Regions from separate parts of the Homo sapiens genome. Here region 2 is linked to region 1. The links are contacts of gene promoters, found by promoter capture Hi-C in blood cells and fetal thymus (Javierre and others, 2016). All regions are on one chromosome and are shown on one strand. Each heading gives the region's core, a stretch centred on a gene start or on the middle of the fragment in contact. The rest is flanking DNA. Distances are from core to core; before and after follow the strand shown. Region 1 holds the start of GAL3ST4 (galactose-3-O-sulfotransferase 4). Region 2 holds the start of PILRB (paired immunoglobin like type 2 receptor beta).

What was found. Contacts are between HindIII fragments. The CHiCAGO score rates a contact against its expected background, and 5 or more counts as called.
Region 2: a contact is called between the fragment with the promoter of PILRB here and the fragment with the promoter of GAL3ST4 in region 1, in 3 of 17 cell types (total B cells, total CD8 T cells and naive B cells). The highest score is 6.9, in total B cells.

Annotation. Positions count from the first base shown.
Region 1 is chr7:100,163,646-100,170,905 of GRCh38, reverse strand. GAL3ST4 (galactose-3-O-sulfotransferase 4) reads left to right here and starts at 2,289. Exons shown (of 4, transcript NM_024637.5): 1 at 2,289-2,360; 2 at 3,623-3,935; 3 at 4,101-4,404. The coding sequence starts at 3,811. GPC2 (glypican 2) reads left to right here. Exons shown (of 10, transcript NM_152742.3): 10 at 423-1,300. The coding sequence ends at 676. The HindIII fragment of the contact is 24,826 bases long and covers 1-7,260 here.
Region 2 is chr7:100,355,681-100,362,997 of GRCh38, reverse strand. PILRB (paired immunoglobin like type 2 receptor beta) reads right to left here and starts at 4,881. Exons shown (of 4, transcript NM_178238.4): 1 at 4,632-4,881; 2 at 3,919-4,308; 3 at 3,461-3,661. The coding sequence starts at 4,695. It overlaps STAG3L5P-PVRIG2P-PILRB (STAG3L5P-PVRIG2P-PILRB readthrough), which reads right to left. Exons shown (of 17, transcript NR_036570.1): 13 at 6,115-6,248; 14 at 4,632-4,778; 15 at 3,919-4,099; 16 at 3,461-3,661. It overlaps MIR6840 (microRNA 6840), which reads right to left and starts at 6,347; the gene lies at 6,277-6,347. The HindIII fragment of the contact is 11,655 bases long and covers 3,432-7,317 here.

The DNA of each region.
Region 1 (7,260 bases), core at 1,040-3,539:
AACAGAGAAGCAAGGCACAGACACTCATTGTTTTCTTCTCTCCTTCTATCTGTCTGTCTCTGTCTCTCTTTGTCACTCTTCCCGCACCCCTCTTCCTGGCTGCTTTCTGCTTCTGTGTACTTCTGATTTTTCTGTTTTTTCCTGTTATCCTCTCTCCCCATCTGCCTGTTTTGTTTTTTTTTCTCTCTGTCTCACTGTCTCCCATCATGATCTCTCCCCCCATGTCTGCTGTCGGATCTCTCTCCTTCCTTCTCTCCCTGCCTTCCTGTCACTCATGGTCTTTCTCCCTTCCCCAACCCGGCATCCACCTGTGTCTCCCTCCCTTTCCTCTCTCTTTCTGTTTTTATCTCAATTTCTTTTCCTCCCTCTGTCTCCCTCTGCTTCTCCCTCCCATCCTGCTCTGTCCCTCTTCTTCCTTGCAGATGAGGATGCCAGCGGCTCTGGAGGGGGACAGCAGTATGCAGATGACTGGATGGCTGGGGCTGTGGCTCCCCCAGCCCGGCCTCCTCGGCCTCCATACCCTCCTAGAAGGGATGGTTCTGGGGGCAAAGGAGGAGGTGGCAGTGCCCGCTACAACCAGGGCCGGAGCAGGAGTGGGGGGGCATCTATTGGTTTTCACACCCAAACCATCCTCATTCTCTCCCTCTCAGCCCTGGCCCTGCTTGGACCTCGATAACGGGGGAGGGGTGCCCTAGCATCAGAAGGGTTCATGGCCCTTTCCCCTCCTCCCCCCTCAGCTGGGCCTGGGGAGGAGTCGAAGGGGGCTGCAGAGAGGGTAGAGAAGGGACTTTGCAGGTGAATGGCTGGGGCCCCAAATCCAGGAGATTTTCATCAGAGGTGGGTGGGTGTTCACAATATTTATTTTTTCATTTGGTAATGGGAGGGGGGCCTGGGGGTATTTATTTAGGAGGGAGTGTGGTTTCCTTAGAAGGTATAGTCTCTAGCCCTCTAAGGCTGGGGCTGGTGATCAGCCCCAACAGAGAAAATGAGGAGTTTAGAGTTGCAGCTGGGGAAGGGGTTTGAAGGAAGTTGGAAGTGGGGAGGGGTGGGGGCATCTGGTCTCAGAAATGGACCAGCTGGATGCAGGGCAGGGGACTGAGGGTGCTTGAGTAGGATGTGAGACTTCATGGGCCTGGGTTCTGTTGAGTTTTTTCAGTATCAATTTCTTAAACCAAATTTTAAAAAAAACAAGGTGGGGGGGTGCTCATCTCGTGACCTCTGCCACCCACATCCTTCACAAACTCCATGTTTCAGTGTTTGAGTCCATGTTTATTCTGCAAATAAATGGTAATGTATTGGACCCCATGTGTGGCTTCTGTGCTGTCACCATCAGTGCCTGAGCCCTGGCTCCTAGCAGAGGTCTCAGAGCCTCTGTGACTGGCTCATTTTCTGCCGGCTTTTCACTTCCCTTGGCACCTGTCCCCCAGGAGGCGGGCCTAGACAATAACCTCTGATCTCCAAATTGCCCACCCTCTGGGCCTCTGAGCATCTTCGTTTGTACAACAGGGAGAATTGTGGGGACCAAATAGAATCTGTGTGAAAAAGCACCTTGTCACCTGCAAAATGCTCTTTGAACATGAGGCTTTTTTTTTTTTTTTTTTGAGATAGAGTCTCGCTGTTGTCGCGAGGCTGGAGTGCAATGGCGCGATCTCAGTTCACTGCAACCTCCGCCTCCCCAGTTCAAATGATTCTCCTGCCTCAGCCTCCTGAGTAGCTGGGATTACAGGCGCCTGCCACCACAGTCAGCTAATTTTTGTATTTTTAGTAGAGACGGGGTTTCACCATGTTGGCCAGGCTGATCGCAAACTCCTGACCTCAAGCGATCCACCAGCCTTAGCCTCCCAAAGTGCTGGGATTACAGGCGTGAGCCACCGCACCCGGCCACGAAGCATTATTAAGGTGACCACACCACTGCCCCCTGCCTTCAGGATGGGAGGCCTTGTTCTCTGAGTGTCAGTCTCTGGCTACCTTGCCACGTCCTTGACAATGTCTGCTTTCAAATATCACTTTCTCCTTCCTTCCTTCTTTCTTTCCACCGCCTGAATGAATCTTTTGTTCTGCGGCAAGCCAAGAGAAAATGGTAGGATTGATTCCCAAGTGTGAAAGCGGGGGCGGAAGTGGTGTCTTCCAAGAGGAGTCTGGGTGCCCTGCCGAAGAGGGGAAGATGCAGCGAGGGAGAGACCTAGAACCGCGATCAAAGCTGCAGCAGCTGCTGGGGCTGGCGGCACAAAGGGAGGAGGGAGGAGCCTGGGCGCTGAGAAAGTTCTTGGGGAAAGTTGAGCTGAGCCAAGAGTCGGGCGGTGGCTGGGATGGGCGGGAGGGCCCGGCCCGATTTCCCTTGCTGCTCCCCTTGTGGCCTGGTGAGTGGGAAGTGAAACCAAGGATAGGACCAGTGGAGGGACCCTCTAATTTATGGGAGGAGACATGAGGGGTTCATGGAACCCCAGCGGGGGCAACTGGGCAGTCACCAAAGCTGGAGGGGACAGAGGGCTGGGATCTCCAATCATGGGAAGGGAGAGATGGATGGAAGGAAATGAAGAACTCTGGATAGGGGAGACGCGGCTAGACCCCAGGGGCTGTGATCAGGGAGGGAATTGGGGAGTGATGCCAGAGAGGGCAGGTCTCCGGGAGTAAAAGTGTGGCTTCTCTCTGCTTGGGGTTACCCCTGGCTCATCGGAGCAGGGAGCTGTCGGGGCTTGTTGGAGGGGCCGTGGTCCCTGATCGCGAGTTGTAATCTGAAGGGGCGGGGCTGGACTCCCGGTTGATTAGGAAGCTCGGGCTTCAGAAGGAACTCTGCAGTTAGTGTTTGCGCCTTTCTCCTTATCTTTGTGTCATAGTCTCTCTGTCCCTCTGTCTCTCTCTCTCTGTTTCTCTGTGTGTGTGTGTGTGTGTGTGTGTGTCTCTCTCTCTTTCTGTCTCCCTCTCCAGCCCCACCCTTTCAGTCTCCTCCGGGTGCACTGATAAGGTTGGAAAGTGGAATGGTGGGTAAGTCCAGGGATCTGGGCTTTATAAGTAGCCACACGTCTCCCCCAGCCCCTGTCATACATGGGGGTCTGCCCCGTGCTGAGACAGAGAAAAAAGAGGCGCGGGAATTTATAACCCAATGGCTCTTACCCATTGCAATGCCACTCCTGGAAGTCCAACCTCCCTTCCTCCTGCCTGGGTTCATACACCTGTGTCCTGTCTGATCCTCATTCCCACTGTATGGCTTCCCTTCCTGGTCCTGGGATAGGGCTCTTTATCCCCATCTGTGACAGCCAGAGGGGCTCTGGAGGAAACCAGGTTCCCGACCATGGTCTGACCTGACTGTGTTAATGAGCTGATTGATCTGATCTCTCTCTCTCTTGCTGGCTGTTTCATTCACGAGCTGGGGCTTTTTCTCTCCTTCCCTTATAAATCCCCAAGGCTCAGGGACAACTGTAGGTGGGGAGCGGGAGGAACTGGAGATAAGAAAGTGATAGAGCAGAGACAGTAGTTGTGGGGCCACCTAGGAGAGTCTGGGTATAGACAACATCCCCAGCCACTCCCCTTCCCTGAAGGAGGTCTCAGCTGCAGCAGGAGAGAAGGCTGCCTCTGCCTCTCTCCTTAGACTTCCCTTCTTCCCCCCTCATTTCCCTTCTAGACGCTGACAGAGGCAAAAATCTGCTAACTCAGGGGGCAGACTCAACCAAGACTGTGAGCAGGCCTGGGGAATGACCCCCCGATCTCCAACCAGTGCCTTCCGCAGCTGCACGGCTGTCTCCAGCTGTCTCTGCCCCTCTTCCTGGCCCTGGCTCCATCTCTCTGTCACCTCACCCTTCCCTGTGCCACATGGGCCCTCTCTCTCCTGCCAGGACGCTGCGGCTCTGGGGACCTCGGAGCCTGGGGGTGGCTCTGGGAGTCTTCATGACCATTGGCTTTGCACTCCAGCTCTTGGGAGGGCCCTTCCAGAGGAGGTGAGTTCCCACTTTGCCCCAACTCCTTCTAGACGCCCCGTACTTGCTCTTCCCCATCCCACCTGGGGCTGGTGACTCCTGAGGACTCAGAAGCCTCCATGCCCTCTGTCCCTTCTACCCATTTGCTGCTGAGGAACAGGACACTCCCCCTCCATCTCTTCCCAGGCTACCTGGGCTACAGCTCCGACAGCCCTCGGCCCCATCCCTACGACCAGCCCTTCCGTCCTGCCCACCCCGGCAGCGACTGGTGTTCCTGAAGACACATAAATCCGGGAGCAGCTCTGTGCTGAGCCTGCTTCACCGCTATGGGGACCAGCACGGGCTGCGCTTCGCCCTCCCTGCCCGCTACCAGTTTGGCTACCCAAAGCTCTTCCAGGCCTCTAGGGTAAAAGGCTACCGCCCACAGGGTGGAGGCACCCAGCTCCCCTTCCACATCCTCTGTCACCACATGAGGTTCAACCTGAAAGAGGTAAGGAGTGTCGCAGTGGTGGGAGGGACCAGAAACAGATGGGCTCAGGCTGACACCACCAAGGGAGGGGGCCCAGACCTGGGGGCTCCCCAGGCATCATCTCACCCTAAAGTTGGACATAGGGGCCACAAAGTTGGGCTCCCTGCCATCCTCTCTACAGGTGTCCCTTCCCCAGTAGTTTCTGGGAGCCCAAGTCCTCCTCCCTTCTCTCTCTGGCGCTTACTCCAGTCTCTCTCTTTCACCAATGTATTTCCCTGGCATCAGTGCCTTGCCAACTCTGAGCCCCCAACTCTCCCTCCAGGTGCCCCTTACTCTTCTGTTTTTAAATTATTTTTTGGAAGACAGGGTCTTACTCTGTCGCCCAGGCTGGAGTGCAGTGGCACAATCATAGCTCACTGCAGCCTTGACTTCCCAGGCTCAAGTGATCCTCCCACCTCAGCCTCCTGAGTAGCTATGGCTAAGGCATGTGCCACTACACGTGGCTACTTTTTAATTTTTTGTAGAGATGGGGTCTTGCTATGTTGCCCAGGCTGATCTCAAACCCCTGGGCTTAAATAAATAAATAAATAGTCCTGGGCTCAAGTGATCTGCTCACCTTGACCTCCCAAAGGGTTGGGATTACAGGAGTGAGCTTGCCCAGCCTGTGTGTGTGTGTGTGTGTGTGTGTGTGTGTGTGTGTGTGAGACAGGGTCTCATTCTGTCATCCAGGCTGGAATGCAGTGGTACAATTATAGCTCACTGTAACCTCAAACTCCTGGGCTCAAGCGATCCTCTCACCTCAGCCTCCCAACTAGCTGGGACTACAGGTGCATGCCACCACACCTGGCTATTTTTTTATTTTATTTTTTGTAGAGATGGAGTCTCACTATGTTGCCCAGGCTGGCCTCAAATGATCCTCCCACCTCAGCCTGGCAAGTACCTAGGACAACACGCCCCTTCCCTTTCTTAGCCTCCCTTTCACTGTCACACCAGGGCCCCACCTCCCCCACTGCCTTCTGACTTGTCTTCTTCAACCCCCTCACATTTTGAGGATCAGCTGTATTTTTAGCCCGGGACTAAGCCCAGCACTTTGGGAGACCAAGGTGGGCAGATCACCTGAGGTCAGAAGTTCGAGACCAGCCTGGCCAACATGGTGAAACCCTGTCTCTACTAAAAATACAAAAATTAGCCAGGCGTGGTGGCACACGCCTGTAATCCCAGCTACTCGGGAGGCTGAGGCAGGAGAATTGCTTGAACCCAGGAGGCAGAGGTTGCAGTGAGCCGAGATTGTGCCACTGCACTCCAGCCTGGGCAACAGAGCGAGACTCCATTTCACAAAAGAAAAAAAAGGCCGGGCGCAGTGGCTCACGCCTGTAATCCCAGCACTTTGGGAGGCCAAGGCGGGTGGATCACAAGGTCAGGAGATCGAGACCATCCTGGCTAACACAGTGAAACCCCGTTTCTACTAAAAATACAAAAAATTAGCCGGGCATGGTGGTGGGTGCCCGTAGTCCCAGCTACTCAGGAGGCTGAGGCAGGAAAATGGCATGAACCTGGGAGGCGGAGCTTGCAGTGAGCTGAGATCGTGCCACTGCACTCCAGCCTGGGTGACACAGTGAGACTCTGTCTCAAAAAAAAAAAAAAAAGGAAAGAAAGATAAATAAATAAAATTGAAAATTAAAGTGGCAGAGCTGGAAGTTGAGCCCAGGTCCATGCACTCCAAAGTCGAGGCTTCTTCCGAGGCTTGTGCATGTGTTTGTATCTGGAATGGTGAGAAGAATATTCACCAAAGAGGTGATGCTTTCTGGAGAGGGGGGTTTATTTTACTTTATTATTTAATTTTGATTTTTATTTTATTTATTTTGAGACAGAGTCTTGCTCTTTCCCCTGGGCTGGAGTGCAGTGGCACGATCTCAGCTCACTGCAACCTCTGCCTCCCGGGTTCAAGCAATTCTCATGCCTCCCAAGTAGCTGGGACTACAGGCACCCGCCACCACGCCTAGCTAATTTTTGTACTTTTAGTAGAGACAGGGTTTCGCCATGTTGACCAGGCTGGTCTCAAACTCCTGACCTCAAGTGATCCGCCCACCTCAGCCTCCCAAAATGCTGGGATTCCAGGTGTCAGCCACCGTGCCCAGCCGAGAGCGGGGGGTTTTAAAGGAAAAGGTGGATGTGGCTTGTGGTAAGGACAGCATGAGGCATTCTTAGAGGGAGCAAAACACCAGCAAGGACATGGTGGGGTGCACGTGTGTGTGTGCATGTAAGAGGGAGAACGTCTGTACTGGGGGTAGAAGTTCCACAGGGGCTGCAAAGTCACCCTTGTTGAAGCTGGAGCTGGAGACACCAGCTGAGGACATGGGCGTGCTCTGATGGGCAGCGAAAGGCCACTGCCAGGAGTGAGGCAATGACAGTGACCTTTGAGGTAGGTTTCTCCAGAGGCTAGGATGATGGCCTTCACTGACGCCACCATTCACTGAATACCTACCATGTTCCAGACACTTGCACATTCTTCCAGGTAAGTGTTACCCAGTTACTCAGATTTCTAGATGGAGGAATGATGGCTCTGAGACCTTCAATAACCCGCCCAAAGTCACAGAATTAGTAAATGGCAGAGTGGGATTTTATTCCAGGTCCAGATGCCAAAGACTGTTTTCTTCGCTTTCCCCTCTGCCTTCAAAGAGACCTGCAGGGCCAGGCATGGTGGCTCATGCCTGTGATCCGAGTGTTTTGGATGCTGAGGTGAGAGGATTACTTGAGCCCAGGAGTTCAACGCCAATCTGGGCAACATAGCAAGACCCCATCACTACAAAAAAATTAAAAATTAACAGGGAATGTTGGTGTGTGCCTGTAGTCCCAGCTATTCAGGAGGCTGAGATT
Region 2 (7,317 bases), core at 3,632-6,131, 190 kb before region 1:
GTGTTGAATAGAAGTAGTGAGATCGGGCATCCTTCTCTTATTCCTGATCTTGGAGGCAAAGATTTCAGTCTTTCACCTAAAATGACTGAAAGACTTTCAGCCATGGGCCTTGCATGACTGGCCTTTATTTTGTTGCTGTACATTCCTTCTTTTCCTGGTTTTGGAGTGTTTTACCAGGAAAGGGTGTTCAGGCTGGGCACCGTGGCTCAGCCTGCAATGCCAGCACTTTGGGAGGCCAAGGTGGGCGGATCACTTGAGGTCGGGAGTTCGAGACCAGCCTGGCCAATATAGTAAAACCACGTTTCTTCCAAAAATACAAAAATTAGCCGGGCATAGTGGTGCACACCTGTAATCCTAGCTCCTCGAAAGGATGAGGTGGAAGAATCGCTTGAACCCGGGAGGCAGAAGTTGCAGTGAGCCAAGATGGCACCACTGCACTCCAGGCTGGGCAACAGAGCGAGGCTCCATCTCAAAAAAAAAAAAGGAAAGGTGTTCAATCTTGTCCAATGTTTTTTCTGTATCAGTTGAGATGATCATGTGGGTTTTGTCCTTCATTCTGCTAATGGGGTGCACTACATTAATTTTCCTGTTTTGGGTGATACATGCATTCCAGGGCTATCTCCAACTTGGTCATGGCGTACAGTCCTTTTAACATGCTGTGAAAGTTGGTTTGCTAGAATTTTGTTGAAGATTTTCCCATCAATATTCACCAGCCTTTTCATCTGTATTTTGTGTATTGTTTTTCTTGCAGGGTCTTTATCTGGCTTTTAGGTCATGGTGTTGCTGACCTCACAGAATGAACCTGGAAGTGTTCCCTCTGTCTTTGGTCATTATCCCACCCTACCTCTTGTTGAACCTCACTGACTTTTGATCCTTTGTAATCTACTATTTTGCAGATTCTCCAAGCTTCCTGCTGACCCCCCTGCTCTCCATTCCTGCTCTCTCAGTAGTTCCTTGACCTTCTGTGATCTCCTGATCTGATTTTCTGCTAGAATCACAGGTGTGAGCCACCGCACCCGGCAAAAATTTTTTTATATAGTTAAATTTATCAGTATTTTAATATATGGCTCCTGGGTTTGGTGGTCATACTGACTGTCTCCACTCTATGGTTATAAAATAATCTCACGTGCTTCCATGAGGAAGTTGAGGCACACAACCTTTGTACCCACGAGCCTGTTTCCCTGGCAAGGTTGTGAGGGCAGGATCTGACTGCAGGCAGCCCCTACTCCATGTTCCTCCCCTCTGTGCTTTCATAGCTGATAGGGCGAATCTCCTTTCACTGAAGACTTTCTTTTTTACTTTTTATAGATGGAGTCTCGCTCTATCAGCCAGGCTGGAGTGCAGTGTCACCATCTCGGCTCACTGCAGCCTCCACCTCCTGGGTTCAAGCAATTCTCCTGCCTCAGCTTCCTGAGTAGCTTGGACTACAGGTGTCGGCCACCATGCCTGGCTAATTTTTTGTGTTTTTAATTGAGATGGGGTTTCACCATTTTGGCCAGGCTGGTCTTGAACGCCTGACCTCAGGTGATCCAGCCGCCTTGGCCTCCCAAGGTGCTGGGATTATAGGCATTAGCCACCGTGCCTGGCCTGAAGACTTTCTTGATGGTAACTTACTGTCAGGTTTGGAGGATATTGAGGTAGAACTCATTGCTGCCTGGAGCCTTGTCCTCTCTTTTGAACTGGAAATGTGTACATCCAAGTTTCCAATGGACAACTCTGCTGAGATGCCACACATGGATCTCCCGTATAACAGATTCCAAACTGGCCGGGTGCGGTGGCTCAAGCCTGTAATCCCAGCACTTTGGAAGGCCGAGGCAGGCGGATCACGAGGTCAGGAGATCGAGACCATCCTGGCTAACAGAGTGAAACCCCGTCTCTACTAAAACTACAAAAAATTAGCCAGGTGTGGTGGCGGGCGCCTGTAGTCCCAGCTACTCAGGAGGCTGAGGCAGGAGAATGGCTTGAACCCAGGAGGGGGAGCTTGCAGTGAGCCGAGATTGTGCCACTGCACTCCAGCCTGGGCGACAGAACAAAACTCTGTCTCAAAAACAAAAAACAAAACAAAACAAAAAAACAAATTCCGAACTAAACGAGGCATCGCTCCCCTCCAAACATAGTCTCCTCCTCTATTGTCTACTGTAGTTGGTGGTTTCATCATAGCCCCATGCACCCAAGTGGAAACGGGTGCTTCTTCCTGCTCCCTTGCCCCTACATCAATCTAACAATCTCATTGGTTTTTATTACTTAATCTTTTCTAGGATCTGGCCCTTTCCCTCTCTCCACCTCACTCCTGCACTGCACTGACCCAGCCTGGCCCACCTCTGGCCATTCCTCCATAGACTGAGGTCTCTCATGGGGAACTGAGGTCACCCTTTGCTGCCTCACGCTGCCTCTGGGATCAGAGGCTCTTGGATGTGATTTCTAAGGTCATCTCCTCTTCTCTCCTCTCCTGCCTCCTTCACCAGCACCAAGCTTCCTACAGCTCCTGGAATGGTTTCCTCCACCCACAAGGAAAGTGAGTGACCTCTACACAATCCTCACCTCTTGCCAGGCTAATTCTTTTCTTTTTTGAGACATCTGCAGATGCCACCTCCTGTGGGAAGTCCTCCCTGATTACCTCTCTCTCCTCCCACCCTTGTTTAGCAATACCATAGTTCTTTCTCAATGAAGCAATTAGTCCTTGAGGCAACTGACAACTCCACACCCCCAGTTCCCTGAGAGCAGAGCCTATGCTTTATATACTTTGCTTCTCCAGTTTCAAGCCAGGCCGTGGCAGGAGGGCAGTCAGCCAGTGCCTGCTGAGCTCAGCCCAATTCTGGTCCCTTCTCCTCTCTCTGTTCTTTTCCCAGGGCAGGCCCTCCCCTCCCCAGGAACCTTCAGGGGAGCGTGGATGATTGATGACTGAGAGAGAAGTTGGGGGGATCCAGCTGTGTGGAGAGGGCTGGGGGCTTTTTTTGTTTGTTTGTTTGTTTGTTTGAGACAGAGTCTTGTTCTGTCACCAGGCTGGAGTGCAGTGGCACGACCTTGACTCACTGCAACCTCTGCCTCCCGGGTTCAAGCGATTCTCCTGCCTCAGCCTCCTGAGTAGCTGGGACTATAAGCGTGTGCCACCATGCCCAGCTAATTTTTGTATTTTTAGTAGACATGGGGTGTCACCATGTTGGCCAGGATGGTCTTGATCTCTTGGCCTTGTGATCCACCTGCCTTGGGCTCCCAAAGTGCTGGGATTACAGGCATGAGCCACCGCGCCCAGGCTGGGGGTTCTCACATGTGACCCTGCACCACCCCACTGCAGGAGGCCCCCGAGATGCAGACGCCCCAGCACAGGCCAGAGTCGGCCTTGGTGGGCTTGAGGGGAGCCAGCAGGGTCTGCATATTTCTGAAGTCCCTTAGCTGCAGGTGGGCTCAGAGAAACCCCCAGCTGGGAAGCTTGAGGAGACAGTGCGTTCTGGGCACTTACCTTTCCTTCTCCTCCACCACAGGAGGAGGAGGCACAGCAGTCCCAAAATGACAGTTTTGAGCACAGCGACAGCCAATGCAACCCTGATGGCAGTGTCCAGACTTAGGTGCCATGATTCTGAGTGCCCTTTGCTTTCTGTGACCCTGAGGCCGGCTATGGTGGTTGTGCTGCTGGGCCTCCAGGTGGTGGTGGTTGTGACAGCTGGAAGAGATGAGGAATGAGCAGACCCTCTTCTGGGGGTGTGGGGCGTCTGGATGAAAGGCATGGTGTGCTGCTTTCTAGATTGGGGACATTCAGGATGAGCAAGCTGCTCTCAGAAGCCCAGACATGGAAGGGGTAGCAAGGTGAAATGCTAACAGCTCTCAATCCAGACCACTGGGTTTAAATGTGAAGACATCAGTGGTCACCAAAACCCTCACTGCGGTGGGCAAGGCAGGTGTCAGGGCAGCTGGACTCACCCTGGGTGATGGTGAGTTTGGTCCCCTTGATGGACTGCAACTGCTGCCTCCCTGATCTCCGGGTGTCCAGCTCGACTCGGCAGAAATACACAGACTGGTCCTCCTTCCGCAGGTTTGAGATCCTGAGGAAGCCGCTCTCCTGACCCTCTGTCCAGTTCAGAAAGAGCCGGTTCACATAATCCTTGTGAATGGAAGGCGGCCTTGTGCTGTAGAAGGACTGCCCGTGGAAGTGGCCCCGTCTCCAGGATATTCTCACGTTGGGAACTATGGCTAACTCCCAGGGGTAATAGAAGGAGAAGGGGATTTCCACAGAGCCACCCATGGAGGCTGAGAGGTGTTTTGGTTGAGTGACCCCATAAAGGTAGCTTGGACCAGATCCTGTGGAGCCACCTAGAGGAAGGAGGGAGTGAGTGGGGGAGAGACCTTGAAACCACCTCAGGACACAAAGAGGGTGACCCCAGACCCTCCCACACCTTCACCCACAGGCAGTCGTGTGACAGGTGGCTGGACTGACCTCTGGCCTGGGTCTCCCACTCTTCAGGCATGGGGGAGGGTGGAGGGGGAAGAGATGGCGGCACCCACCCCTATGGGACCCGCCCTTGTTTGCTGGAGGTGGGAGCCTGGCCCCTGCCCCAGATGTTCTGCCTTTGTCTTGGGTTGGCCCCTCCTGTGGTTTGGGCAGAGACCATACCTGGGCGGTCCTGGGTACTCACCAGGCTGCAGAAATGCTGGCGGCTGCAGCAGGAGCAGCAGGGGCAGCAGCAGGGGCCGACCCATGGCCTTGTTCTTCTCCAGGGGACGGGGAGACCAGCAGAGCTGTCCAGGCAGGAGAGGGGCCCTGTGGAGGGGCTGCCTGAGGGCTGAGGTGAGTGGGGAGAGCCAGGGTGAGGCTCCCCAGAGGGCTGTGGGGGCCGGGGACCTTCCCCAAACCAGTACACCTCCAGGGTGACCAGCACTTCCTTTATCCATCTGGCTTCTTATTGCAAAAGGGCCTTAGGTGCCTTTTTATCCCTTGCCTAATTGCTCCGGCCAGGACTTCAAATCCTTTTTTTTTTTTTTTTTTTAGTAGAGATGGGGTTTTGCCATGTTGGCCAGGGTGGTCTCACACTCATAGGCTCAAGTAATCTGCCCGCCTCAGCCTCCAAAAGTGCTGGGATTACAGGCGTGAGCCACTGTGCCCGGCCTGACTTCAAATCCTGTGTTGAATAGAAGTAGTGAGAGCGGGCATCCTTCTCTTGTTCCTGATCTTGGAGGCAAAGATTTCAGTCTTTCATCTAAAATGACTGAAAGACTTTCAGCCATGGGCCTTGCATGACTGGCCTTTATTTTGTTGCAGTACATTCCTTCTCTTCCTGGTTTGTGGAGTGTTTTACCAGGAAAGGGTGTTCAGGCTGGGCACAGTGGCTCAAGTCACACAAAAGTGTCAAGTCAGCCCTGCCCAAGGGCCCCAGTGCCCATCTTCCTGCTGAGGGGCTGGGCCTCACCTTGGCTGGCTGGGCCCCTCCCACCTGGATCCCTGCAGACCCCACCGCACTCAGCCTCACTTCTCATCCCTTTCTCTGTCCAAGGCCAGCGCAGGCTCTTTCAGGGAGAGGAAAGGCGGGCCTGAGTCTGTGCTCTGCTGCACCCCAGATTCAGTCCTCAGAGAGGAGAAGGAGGAAGCCAGTGGAGGTCACAGGCGCTCAGCCCCCAGCCCAAGCACCAGAGCCCCCAGCTTGTCCTCTGTCCCTCTCCCTCCCTGGCAGGGGCTCCCATGCAGTCCCCAGGCACCACCACAGCCCAGCTGGCCTCTTCCCACCCCAGGCCTGCTCCCTTGGTGCAGGGACCACAGTCTTGCTCAAGGGGTGAGGGGGCTGACGGTCCCCTACACAGAGACTGGTCCCTCTCGAGGCCACCCCTTGACCCCCAGACATGAGACTGGATCTGCAGGGTCCCCTCTGACCTCCCTGCCCTACACAGGAGGGGACAGAGCTTGGAGAAGCCCTGTCCCAGGCCACATGACTTGCAGGGCAGTCCCAGGACTGGAGCCCCCTCTACCTGGATCTCTGGGCCTCAACTTCTGAGTTGCAGGAACTCAGGCATAGGGGAGCCCCAGGAGGTTGTTCCCTCATACAGCCCCTCAGGTCATTCCCTCCACACACCTGAGCCTATGGCTGAACCAGGAAGGTTCCTTGGTGCCAGGGCAGCTGGACTCACCCTGGGTGATGGTGAGGTGGGTCCCCTTGATGGACTGCCACGACAGCCTCCCTGATCTGTATGTCCAGCTGGACTTGGCAGAAGTACACAGACTGGTCCTCCTTCCGCAGGTTCGAGATCCTGAGGAAGCCTCCCTGAGGAAGTGAAGGCTCAGAGCAACAGTGGGCACCCCGCACAAAGTCCTGGGCCCGTCTCTAACAGGGGATCTGCAGGTCTTTGCCCGGGGGTGGTCACTGGAGCTTTGGTGACCCACAGGGCTCCCTCCATAGGAGGCTCTGCCCATCCTCTCCAGAGTAAGGTGGCATCAGCTGAGGGGCCGTGGGGACAGGAAGGCAGGATTTCACCAGAGGAAGTGATAACAATCTTCTTGAGACAGAAGCAGGCAGGGACAGGCCTCCCTTCTCTTGTCAGTCTCTTCCCTGGTCCCAGTAGGCTCCTCTGTGCTTCCCAGGGCCAGTCAGGCCGATCCACCCTCCTTCCCTTCACAGGTCTGAGGAAACAGGCTCCCCATGCTCAGGAAACCCCTCCGTCTGAGCCAGGCCCTATACACCTCATTCTCCTTGTTCAACCCACAGGGAAACTGAGGCACCGGGGCTTTGGACTGAACTGGTCCCACCTGCAAAGGTGGGCCGAAAAGAGGACAAGGGACCCCCTGGCTGTTTGGGCAAGGCCTCAAGAGGGTGGCCCACCCTGCCTGAGGACTTTTTGTTTTTTTTTTTTGAGATGGATTCTCGCTGTGTTGCCCAGGCTGGAGTGCAATGGTGTGATCTTGGCTCACGGTAACCTCTGCTTCCTGGGTTCAAGTAATTCTCCTGCCTCAGCCTTCCAAGTAGCTGGGAATTACAGGTGTGTGCCACCACACCCAGCTAATTTTTATATTTTTAGTAGAGACAGGGTTTCACCATGTTGGCCAGGCTGGTCTCAAACTCCTGGCCTCAAGTGATCTGCCCACCTCAGCCTCCCAAAGTGCTGGGATTATAGGCATGGGATACAACACCCAGCCACTGAGGACTGACTCTTCGTTCCATTCCTGCCTTGCCCGTGGCCCATGGGACCCAGCTAGAAGGTCACCTGCTTACCAGGCTGCCCAAGGAGGGGGCCACATAGAACTTTTAGCCAACAGCCTCTGGGTAGCTCTGGAGGGTACATACTCCCCAGGGGCCTCAGGCCCGGTACCGCCACGTGCATTCTCCTTAGATGCAA